Regions from separate parts of the Homo sapiens genome. Here regions 1, 2 and 3 are each linked to region 4. The links are contacts of gene promoters, found by promoter capture Hi-C in blood cells and fetal thymus (Javierre and others, 2016). All regions are on one chromosome and are shown on one strand. Each heading gives the region's core, a stretch centred on a gene start or on the middle of the fragment in contact. The rest is flanking DNA. Distances are from core to core; before and after follow the strand shown.

Region 1 (2,700 bases), core at 112-2,611, 95 kb after region 4:
AATGTCAGAAGATGCCTATCATTAGTTCCAGGAAGCTCGGGCTTGCAAGCAAGAAACCTTTTTTTTTTTTTTTTTGGAGACAGAGTCTCACTCTGTCTTCCAGGCTGGAGTTCAGTGGTGCAATCTTGGCTCACTGTAACCTCTGCCTCCCAGGTTTAAGCGATTACCCTGCCTCAGCCTCCCAGGTAGCTAGGATTACAGGCATACCATGCCTGGCTGATTTTTGTATTTTTAATAGAGACGGGGTTTCACCTGGGCAAGCAAGAAACTTAAAAAGAAAATCATACCTAGGCTGGGTGCAGTGGCTAAGGTCTGTAATCCCAGCACTTTGGGAGGCTGAGGCAGGTGAGTTGCTTGAGCCCAGGAGTTTGAGACCAGCCTGGGCAACGTGGCAAAACCCTGTTTCTACTAAAAATACATAAAAATTAGCTGGGCATGGTGGCATGTGCCTGTAATCCCAGCTTCTTGGGAGGCTGAGGTATAAGAATTGTTTGAACTCATGAGGTGGAGGCTGCAGTGAGCCAAGGTCACACCACTTCACTTTAGTCTGGGCGAGGGAGCGAGACTCTATCACAAAAAAAAGAAAAAGGAAAACTATACCTATACACATTACAGATTGAGTATACCTTATCCTAAATGCTTGGGACCAAAGTATTTTGGATTTTTTCAGATTTTGGAATATTTGCATTATACTTTAATGAGCATTTCCTTTGAGCATCATGTTGGTGTTCTAAAAGCTTCAGATTTTGGAGCATTTCACATTTTGGATTTTCAGATTAGGGATGCTCAGCCCGTATAGGGAAACTTTAGAACATTATAGAAATGAACAAAAAGAAAGCAAACTTGAATGCAGCCATATAGGACGTATACTTTTGGTGAAGTTAGAGTAACAGTGGATTTACTTTTCCCTTGAAATGACAAACAAAAAAAAAATACAGAAATATGAAGCAGTGGTTTTCAGGCGACAGAGTCAATGAATGAAAAACAAATGGCCTGAGCCCAATGTTGGCTCCAGCTTGAGAGTTTCTAGGTTGCACTATAGGGAAGGGAACCCAGTGGACTCTCACAGTTGAAGAGAGAGACCTTAGAGTGCACTAAGTCCAAGATAGCTAAAATTCACAGGACAGTGTAACTAAAATGAGAAAACTGCACAAAAAGAAATCCAGAGAACTGTGGATGATCCTCTTAAAGTATTCAGCACAATGCTGATTGGTGCATGCATATGAAAAAGCTTCCTGAACCCAGGGAAAGAATTGTCAGAGGAAATTAGACCAGTGATTGGTGCTCATACAGGACTTCTTCCTATCCAGACTGGAAAGCCTCGTGCTTCATGGGACACTGGGTAGAGTACTCAGAAGAATCTTGTTTCAGTAGTAGGGATATTTAGCCCTAAACTAAATGTGGTCTGGTCCTACATAAAATATTTTAAAGGCAACATTCAAAATGATAAATGGTTTCCAAGTATTTAATGTCATTACAGAACAAAGCTTAGGAATATTACAGAAATACAAAAATACTCATCACTGAAAAAAGTTCACATAATGTAGCATTTAGTCAAAGATTATCAGGTATGCAAAGAGGCAGGAAAATACAAATCATGATGAAGAGAAAAGTCAGCTATAATAACTGACCTTGAACTGACGCCTTTGTTAGGATTAGCAGAGAAGGACAGTAAGACAGTTAATATAACTGTATTCTTGATGTTTCAGAGATGAAGTAGAGACATGGAAAATATAAAAAAGATATGAACAGGACTATTAGAAACGAAAACTACGACATCTAAGATTAAAACTATATTGGGTAGGAATAATAGTACATCAAACATTGCAAAAGAAAAGGTTAGTGAACTCTTGAAGATAAGCAGTGGAAACCACCAGAGTGAAACACAGAAAGAAAAAATTAAACAAAAAGAAAAAAGTTAATGAGCTCTGGATAATTGATCAATATACATGTACTTGTTCTGTACAAATTTTTCCAGAACACTGAAGAGGAGAAATACTTCCCAGTTCAGTCTGTGAATATGAGGTCCACGTAACTCTGATATTCAAACCAGAGACATATTGCAATAAAGGAAAACTTTATTCTTAACTTGTTGACTCCGACGGGAGAAAAAAAAAGAAAGAAAACTTTAGGCCAAAACTCCTCATGAACATAGATGCAGAAATTCTAAATATAACTTTAGCCAATTGAATCCAACAGCATATTAGAGGAATGAATGTGTCATGATCAAGTGGGGCTTTATTCCAGGAGTGCAGTGTTAGTTTTACATTAAAAAATCCCTCATTGGCCAGGCGCAGTAGCTCAGGCCTGTAATCCTAGCACTTTGGGAGGCTGAGGAGGGCGGATCACCTGAGGTTAGGAGTTCGAGACCAGCCTGGCCAACATGGTGAACCCCGTCTCTACTAAAAATACAAAAATTAGCTGGGCATCGTGGCTCATGCCTGAAATCCCAGCTACTTGGGAGGCTGAACCCAGAAAGTTGAGGTTGCAGTAAGCTCAGATCGTGCCACTGCACTCCAGCCTGGGCAACAGAGCAAGACTTCATCTCAAAAAACAACAAAAACAAAAAAAACCCCGCTCATTGTGATTTACCATGTTAGCAAACAGAGAAAACTATGTGATTATCTCAGTAGATGCTGAAAAAGCGTTTTCAAAAATGCTTTGATAAAAAGTCTAAGCACAGCCAGGTGCGGTGGATCA
Region 2 (2,700 bases), core at 23-2,522, 110 kb after region 4:
GTTAGTCCTTCCTTAGCAGCTTTGATTAGGCAAACTCTTCATATACTAACGGGAAATGTGGCCTGAAGAGTTAGGTTGTAATTACATTGGTAATTTAAAAGAACTAAACTGTCAAAGCATGATAGGTCCTCCTTTCATGGCTCCTGTGGAACTAGCTCTCAGGAGTAAGGGGTGTCCTCTCTTTGCTGTTATCTATGAAGGTTTAACAACTTTGACTAGATTATCTACTTACTTGGAAATATTAAAACTTTTAGGGATGTTAAGACCTTTCTTAAGGTGATTATAATTTTTGGACAGTATTTGGGGCTGTACCTGTGGTTTGTGATATACAGCAAATGACACCAGGAGAGGTAAGAGATTTCGCTGGGTTGGTGCTCATAATGAGAAGAGTGGATTATCCCACAGAAGCAATGAGAATAATTTTCAGAAGGAAACTGTTACTTAATGTTTACTGTAGAGTACGTATTTTAGAGATGTTGACATTAGCTTACTTTTTTTTTTCCTTATTAGTATTATATGTAGATGTGGAATCTGATTTTCACGCTAAAGTTCCTGTTGTGGTGTGCAGAGATCGAAAAAGGTTGGTAACAATGAAGATAAAATATTTAAAAAAACAAACCCCAACAACCAAATTTGTAGTGAATGATCTTTAAGAGAAAAAGTTTTTGTTTTAGATTTCTCCTTGGATGAATATGACTAAGCTAGTTTCTATTCATTAAAAATAGCAAGCTTACCAAATGCATGTGAACAAGAAATATATAGAACATCAGACAGTTGAAAATAAAATACTCTAGGCAAAACTTCAATTTTTTTTTTTTCAAGTCATTCACTCACCCAAGAGTATTGCATTTACTTATATGCAGGTACTACTTTGCTCTATGGATACAGACATAAAGAAGAAATAGCCTCTCTTCAGTCACTTGAGCCCAGGAATTCAAGACTAGCCTGGGCAACATAGTGAGACCTTGTCTCCACAAAAAAAATAAAAAAATCAGCCAGGCATGGTGGGTGTGTGTGCCTGTGGTCCCAGCTACTCGGGAGGCTGAGGTGGGAGGATGGCCTGAGCCTGGGAGGTTGAGGCTGCAGTGAGCCGTGATTGTGCCACTGCACTCCAGCCTGGGTGACAGAGTGAGACCCTGTCTCAAAAAAAAAAAAAAAAAAGCCTCTCTTCTCAAGGATCTCACAATCCATTAGAATTTAGAGTTTAGTTTTTATTTCACTTACATTGAATGAGTTGATTTAAATTGAATAAACTCAAGATCAGTCCTAAATTGAAGACTGATCTTGCCTTTCTAGTTAGATGTCTATAAGTCTAAGAGATCAAAGTGCCTTTGAAAGCAGAAACTAAATCCTATTTGAAAGTAGTGTGGGAGACATGGAAACAATACAGAAATGATATTCTTTTATTGATTATTAACTTGTATTATATTTTAAGATCAAGGTATTTTCTTATTCAAAGCTAGATGAGTCTATGGCGATCTAGTTCAGATTTATTTTCTAAACTAGAAAAATGGGACCTGGAGTGGTTTATCAGTTTGTCTAGATTCACATCATTGAGGGGGAAACTATAATTGGAAAATGGAGGCAAAGTGACCTTTAGTGTTTTTTCTGCCACATTGTGTTAAATTGCCTGTGTGTGACACCTCAGATTTATTCTTCTCCCTGCTTTCAAAATATCTTCACTACACTTCTGTCATCCCATTTAAGGTTGCTGCTATTTTCACTTACACAGAAGTATAATTTGTGGGTTAATCTGCAAATCCTGTCTAATCTTTACTCTGAAAATAACATATTAGTACAATTGTGAAAGCTTGGATAGGAAAAATTAGAGTCAAGAAGTATAGCCAGTCAGTTAAGTATTCATTTTTTGCTATTATCATGTAGAAAGCAAGAGGATTGAACTAGGAAATTACCTTGCACTATTTGACATTGAAGAGATCAGTGCCCTGTCTCTCATGTATATCAGTTTTGATAATTCATAATGCTGCTTTTGAAATTAATTTCTCATTAACTTAAATACTAAGTTTGGTTGAAATTTATTTCTGAAGTACAAATGAATGTTAAAAACATCTTTCTTTAATTCGTATGGAACTCTAGTTATGGAATGACATGTAGTTTTCAGTTAGCTCTAAATTTATTAAAACATTTGTTTTTATTAGGGCTTTTACGGTACTATGTTACAATATGATAACTAGAAAGAAAATAGCCACAGGATTTGAAGTATTCTGCTTTTAAGGGTATTAATACAATGAAATTTGTTTCTTTCTCATTCACAGTGGTTTACTTTGTAGAGTGAGTGCAGGAAACGATATGGCATGTCTCACTACTGATTTACTTACTGCCCTTGGCAAAATAGAACCTGTCTTTATTCCCTTGGTGTTAGCCTTTCGCTACTGGGCTAAGGTAAGTGAAAGAGAGGAAAACTACTTATTTATATTTTTAGAAGGAAATGTATTTAATCTTCAAAATTAGGCCTTTTCTTGTACTGACATGTAACATCAATCATAACATGTGGGAGAAAGTAGTTTTCTGTGCTAGACAGAAAGTTGGTGTGGCAGGTTGTAATTTATGGACATAAAAATAAATTTTTGTAGACACACTTATGGATATATTTTAGAATTTTTAATTGTCATGCTATATTCTCCTTTTATGTACTATAGAAATGTTCTCTTTCATATCAGCATATGAGGCTCAAGTTTT
Region 3 (2,700 bases), core at 145-2,644, 74 kb after region 4:
GTCAATTTTCTGAGCCTGGGACTCTCCGGGTACATTGATCTATATTAGGTACATTGATTTTTTTCTTTTTTTAATCTTTGTAGCTTTTGTTTATGTATACAAACTTGATTTATGGAGTATTTTTTAAGTGGATGAATAAATTGTCTAAAATGTTTTACAAGCAAAATTGTGAATCAGCATTGTTATTTCAAATCTTTGTTGTTTTATGGCTTTTGTCAGATGACATCTACAAAATTATTAAAGAATCGTTATAGCAGACTAGCATTAAAAATTTAAAGATATTTTGGTTACTAGACAAGGTAAAACTAATCTTTTAGAAATATAACTCATTTTAATTTTTGAAACAGAGCTCATTTTAGTTGTTAAAGTGAGGAACCTGCAGCAGTTCTCACAAGAATTTAGAAATAGTCATATGTTTTGACAACTTTTCTGACAGTTATGTAAAACACCTTATCAAGAATAATAAAAGCAAAATGTATTAATTAAACAAATTCATATGTATAAAAATTAGGAGCAAAAGCATTCTTTTGCAGTTGTAAGTTTCTATAGCTTTTACTGGAAAATGTTAGTCAAAATATTAATGGTGAAAATGTAGTGTGGTTTAAAATTTTTTTTAATTAAAAAATTTTTAAATATACTTTGCTAGACTCCAACTGACACCATATCTAGTGTGGTTTTGACTTTAGTTTTCATTATAATAATTTAGAAAGAAGAACCTAATACATTTTTAAAGTAAAAGACAGTATTACTCTGGAAAAGCAAGGCAGAGAATGTAGAGGACTGCACTATAAAGAAGAATTATTGGCCAAGTGTGGTGGCTCATTCCTGTAATCCCAGTGCTTTGGGAGACTGAGATGGGAGGGTCACTTGAGGCCATGAGTTTGAGACAAGCCTGAGCAACATAGTGAGACTTTGTCTCTACAACAAAAAAAAATTAGCCAGGTGTGGTGGTGTGCGCCTGTGTTCTTAGTTGCTTGGGAGGCTGAGGCAGGAGGATCATTTGAGCCCAGGAGTTCCAGGCTGCAGTGAGTGATTATTAAAGAGTGAACTCTTTATTTTAGGTAGGATTTTTTTGTTTATATGATGTAAAGTTATATGATAGAGATGTTTACCTAAATTTGTAATTTAGTAAATCAACCAAGTAAAATCAAAGATGGTACATTTTAATTCTATGCAGTTTGCTTTTGCTGGCAGAAGGACTCTAATTTTTATTCATATTATTAATGTTTGTTTAGAAACGGATCTGAATTTAAGGTGTATAGGGCAAAGTGAATAGTAAAAAACATCCTGATTTTTTAATAAAATCACTTTTTTTTTTTTTTTTTGAGACAGGGTCTCACTCTGTTGCCCAGACTGGAATGCAGGAATGCAATCTTGGCTCACCGCAACCTCTGCCTCCTGGTCTCAAGCGATCCTCCCACCTCAGCCTCCTAAGTAGCTGGGACTACAGGCGCATGCCACAGTGGCCGGCTAATTTTTGTTTTCTTTGTAAAGATGGGGTTTCACCATGTTGTCCAGGCTGGTCTTGAACTCCTGGACTCAATCCGCCAGCCTCGGCCTCCCAAAATGTTGGGATTACAGGTGTGAGCCATGTGCCTGGCCTTGACATTATTATTATTATTATTATTATTTTTTTCGAGATGGAGTCTTGCTCTGTCACCCAGGCTGGAGTGCTGTGGCGCGATCTCAGTTCACTGCAACTTCCGCTTCCCGGGTTCAAGCAATTCTCCCGCCTCAGCCTCTTAAATAGGTAGGATTTTACAGGCGCCCACCACTGTACCCGGCTAATTTTTGTATTTTTAGTAGAGACGGGGTTTCACCATGTTGGCCAGGCTGGTCTCGAACTCCTGACCTTGTGATCTGCCCACCTCGGCCTCCCAAAGTGCTGGGATTACAGGCGTGAGGCACCATGCCTGGCTGACATTATTTTTTAGAACACTTTTAGGTTCACAGCAAAATTGAGCAGAAAGTGCAAAGTTGCCATATATACCCTGCATCCACACATGCATAGCCTCCCCCACTTTCAACATCTGGCACCAGAGTAGCATGTTTATTACAGTGGATGAACCTACATTGGCCCGCATTGATACCTTATCACCCAGTGTCTATAGTTTACTTTAGGGTTCATTCTTGGTAATGTGCATTTTGTATCATTATACAAATGTGTAATGACAGATATTCACTATTATAGTGTCATAGAGATTATTACTATTACTTTTGTTTTTTTTTAAACTCTTAAGTTCCTTTTTGTTGTTGTTGTTTTTGAGACAGAGTCTTACTCTGTGGCCCAGGCTGGAGTGCAGTGGTGCGATCTTGGCTCACTGCAACCTCCGCCTCCTGGGTCCCGGTTCAAGCAATTCTCCTGCCTCAGCCTCCCGAGTAGCTGGGATTACAGGCATGTGCCACCACGCCCAGCTGATATTTGTGTTTTTAGTAGAGACAGGGTTTCACTATGTTGGTCAGGCTGGTCTTGAACTCCTGACCTCGTGATCCGCCCGCCTTGGCCTCCCAAAGTGTTGGGATTACAGGCATGAGCCATTGCACCCGGCCCCTGTTGGTTTTTAAAGTATACTTCAGCGAATTCATTTGAACCCGTTTTTACTTCAAGGTGGAGAAAGTCTATTGTTTTCCCATATTTAGAGAGTCAAGTTTGAGGTAAGTTCGAGGTAGGCTAGAGGTACAAATAGATGCTAGTTGGTG
Region 4 (2,700 bases), core at 13-2,512:
TTTTGTGTGGTTCATCCAAAACTGGACGCTGGCCCACCTGTTCATTAGATTTCAACTCCCCAGCCATTTCACACCAGTCCCCAGGTCCATCCTGAAGAGGTCCACTCTGGGAGTTCTTCACTGCACATAATGTGACATGCAGGCCTCTCAATGTAGTGTTCAAGGTCCCGCCTGCTCCCTTGCCAGTCGTTTCAGCCTCATCTTCCACCACTCGTAGCCTCCAGCTTTAGACTCTTTGAAGCACAACAGCTGGAACTCCTGGCCCCGCGCCCCCCCACCCCCTTCTTGCTGTTTGCTTCTTAGTCTTGCTAAAATCCACTCGTATTCAAAGACTCAACCCAGATACCCTTCCTCTCCGAAGTCTTCTCTGAGCTTAGATTCCCTCTTGGTAATGAGGGGGCAATTAGCCTGGATGACTCTTATGTGTGCCCCTGAGCTGCCATCTAAGGACTTGGCCTAGAGAGGACCCCGGATGTGGCGGTGGGGTTCTCTTCCAGGCCCCGTCTTTCTAGTGTAGTGTGACCTTGTGCGAATGCCTGCCCTCTCTGGGCCTTTGTGCCCTCTCCCAGGGATGATCCGTGTGAGGTCTCCGTGCATCTGAAATAACTCTCTCTCTGCCCTGCACATTGATCTCCACAGTGTTCTTCACTGGACTCCGAATCAGCCACTCCCCGTTCCAGATGCAGAAAATGAGGACGGGAGAGGGAAAGGCCGCACGATGCTACGGTTACTTTTTTCACCCGTGAATGGCAAAGGCTGGGCAGTGGTGCCCGGCCTCCCGGCGAAGGTCTGGACCCCGCTGCCCAAAGGTGCCGGTAGCGAAGTGGGCGCCGACTGCGAGCGCTTCGGGTTCCTCCGCGCCAAGGCCGTGCCACGTAGCCGCGGGCCGGGCCGGGCCGGGCGCGGGATGGGGGCGCCGCGCCAGAGGTCACGGCCGAGCGGGGCGGGGGCCGGGGTTTGGCGGCCGCGCGGCTGGAGCGTCCTCGGAGCCACACCGCGCGGGGGACCGGGCTGCGGGGCGTCCCCAGCAGGCCCCGCCAGGGCGAGGCCGGGCCCAGCGGCGCCGCCAGACCCCGCGCACTCACCGATCCGCGGTACTTCTCCAGCGACACCAGTTTGCCCCGGATGTTGACCGCCTTGAAGTCGTAGAAGTCCTGCTCCTGCTGCGCGCAGGCCGCAGCCCACAGGAGCAGCCACGCCGCTGCCACCGTCGCCGCCACCATGGCTTGTTCCGGAGGTGGCGGCGTCGCGAGGGCAAAGACGGGGCGGGGGGATCTAGCGCGGGGGGCGGGAGGAGGCGGCTCTGGCGCCGCTCGGCCCGCAAGGCAGGACGCGCCGCGTTCTCGTTCCCTCCGCAGGCGGTGGATGTCCGGCTCTGGACCTCAGTTTCACCGTCTGTCCTGAGGCAGCGCACCCCTGCCCCGGACCCCAGAGCCAGGGTTTCAGGATTCTGTCCCCTGAGACCGGAGTTCGTTTCAGTGAGGCTCCCTCTTGTCCCAGGAAACAGCGACTTGGCAGGGACAGGGAGGCAAAAATCTGAGAGCTCAGCTTCTCATTAGTGCAGCGGCCTTAGGCTGGCCTGGTCACGCCCCCACTCCGACCTCAGTTTCTCCACATGTTAAGTGGAGCTAGTCGGTATAGGATGGAAGTAATAGAAAAACGGATGCGAAACACTTTAACAGTTGAATGGTGCCTGCAAACTTCAGGTGAATGAATGCATGTTCCCTGAAAGTGATGGCTGGGAGAAGAAGAGAGGACCGTGGGCCTGTTGCAGGTTAGGTTCCTGGAAGCAGATTCTGAGATGGAGATTGGAGTGCAGGATGTTTATGAGGGAGCACCCTTGGGATCAACAGGCGTGGGAAGGATGGGAGGGAACAGGAGTGGCACAGGGGGAAAGTAGTGAGCTCCATGCAGGCCCCAAGACAGTTTTAGCTGACTCGACAGGGACTCTAGAGCTAGAGTAGCCCATCAGATGAGCTAAGATGGCCAGGTCATCCTGCCTTTATCAGTCCTTGGATGTGGGGCCACCTGGCAAGTGGGGCAACAAGGGCCAAGATGGCCCTGTCTGTGGAGAAGCTGACATTAAAGGCTTTGTGCTAACAGCACTCCTAGCAGCTGGTGTCTGTCCTAAGTCCTCAGTGATGGGGGATCTGGGCAGCACATCACAATGTCTCCCCCTGCTCAGAAAACCCCTGTTGAGCCCATGAAATGTCAAACATGGAGCTGGATCCTGTACTCACAGGCTGTGAGTTTTTTCTGGAAACTCACAGACTGGTGTGAGAGAAACCAGGTAAACTGCAGATTTTATGTAATGTGGTAAGGGCTAAGCACTCCTGTGGTCATCAACAAAAACTTCCTGAGCACCTTTTCTATGCCAAGTTTTGCTTTAGGTGATTCTTAGGCAGGGATGAACAGGAGGGCATTATCTCTATCCAGGGAGACACAGGAATTAAATAATTTATAAATAGCTCTAAAATTACTGTTGTGGTGAGTACCACCTAAACTAGCCTGGAGGGCCATGGAGGGCTTTCCAGAAAAAGGGAGATTTGAGCTGAGCTCTGAAGAATGAGGAGAAATTGGTCAGGATGAAGCAACATACAAGTGCAAAGGTCCTGGGGGGAAAGGAACATGGTGCATTGAGTAACAAAGAAGCCTCATTTGGTTGGAACAGAGAGGACAAAGGATGAGAGGGAAAGGTGG

Evidence for each region. The method cuts DNA at HindIII sites, captures the fragments that hold promoters and counts their contacts. A CHiCAGO score of 5 or more calls a contact.
Region 1: a contact is called between a fragment that was not itself captured here and the fragment with the promoter of GPX7 in region 4, in 3 of 17 cell types (naive B cells, total B cells and total CD8 T cells). The highest score is 6.1, in naive B cells.
Region 2: a contact is called between a fragment that was not itself captured here and the fragment with the promoter of GPX7 in region 4, in 2 of 17 cell types (naive B cells and total B cells). The highest score is 5.6, in naive B cells.
Region 3: a fragment that was not itself captured here is called in contact with the fragment with the promoter of GPX7 in region 4 in 1 of 17 cell types (total B cells); the score reaches 5.5 in total B cells.

The regions. Positions count from the first base shown.
Region 1 is chr1:52,505,703-52,508,402 of GRCh38, reverse strand. All of the region lies in intron 4 of TUT4 (terminal uridylyl transferase 4), which reads left to right. Among named protein-coding and RNA genes, the nearest start is that of TUT4, 46 kb to the left of the region's middle. The HindIII fragment of the contact is 256 bases long and covers 1,234-1,489 here.
Region 2 is chr1:52,488,612-52,491,311 of GRCh38, reverse strand. TUT4 (terminal uridylyl transferase 4) reads left to right here. Exons shown (of 30, transcript NM_001009881.3): 8 at 511-580; 9 at 2,277-2,403. Among named protein-coding and RNA genes, the nearest start is that of TUT4, 63 kb to the left of the region's middle. The HindIII fragment of the contact is 1,081 bases long and covers 732-1,812 here.
Region 3 is chr1:52,527,116-52,529,815 of GRCh38, reverse strand. The region is part of intron 1 of TUT4 (terminal uridylyl transferase 4); the gene reads left to right. Among named protein-coding and RNA genes, the nearest start is that of TUT4, 25 kb to the left of the region's middle. The HindIII fragment of the contact is 6,606 bases long and covers 1-2,700 here.
Region 4 is chr1:52,600,933-52,603,632 of GRCh38, reverse strand. It overlaps GPX7 (glutathione peroxidase 7), which reads right to left and starts at 1,262. Exons shown (of 3, transcript NM_015696.5): 1 at 1,086-1,262. The coding sequence starts at 1,223. The HindIII fragment of the contact is 11,376 bases long and covers 1-2,700 here.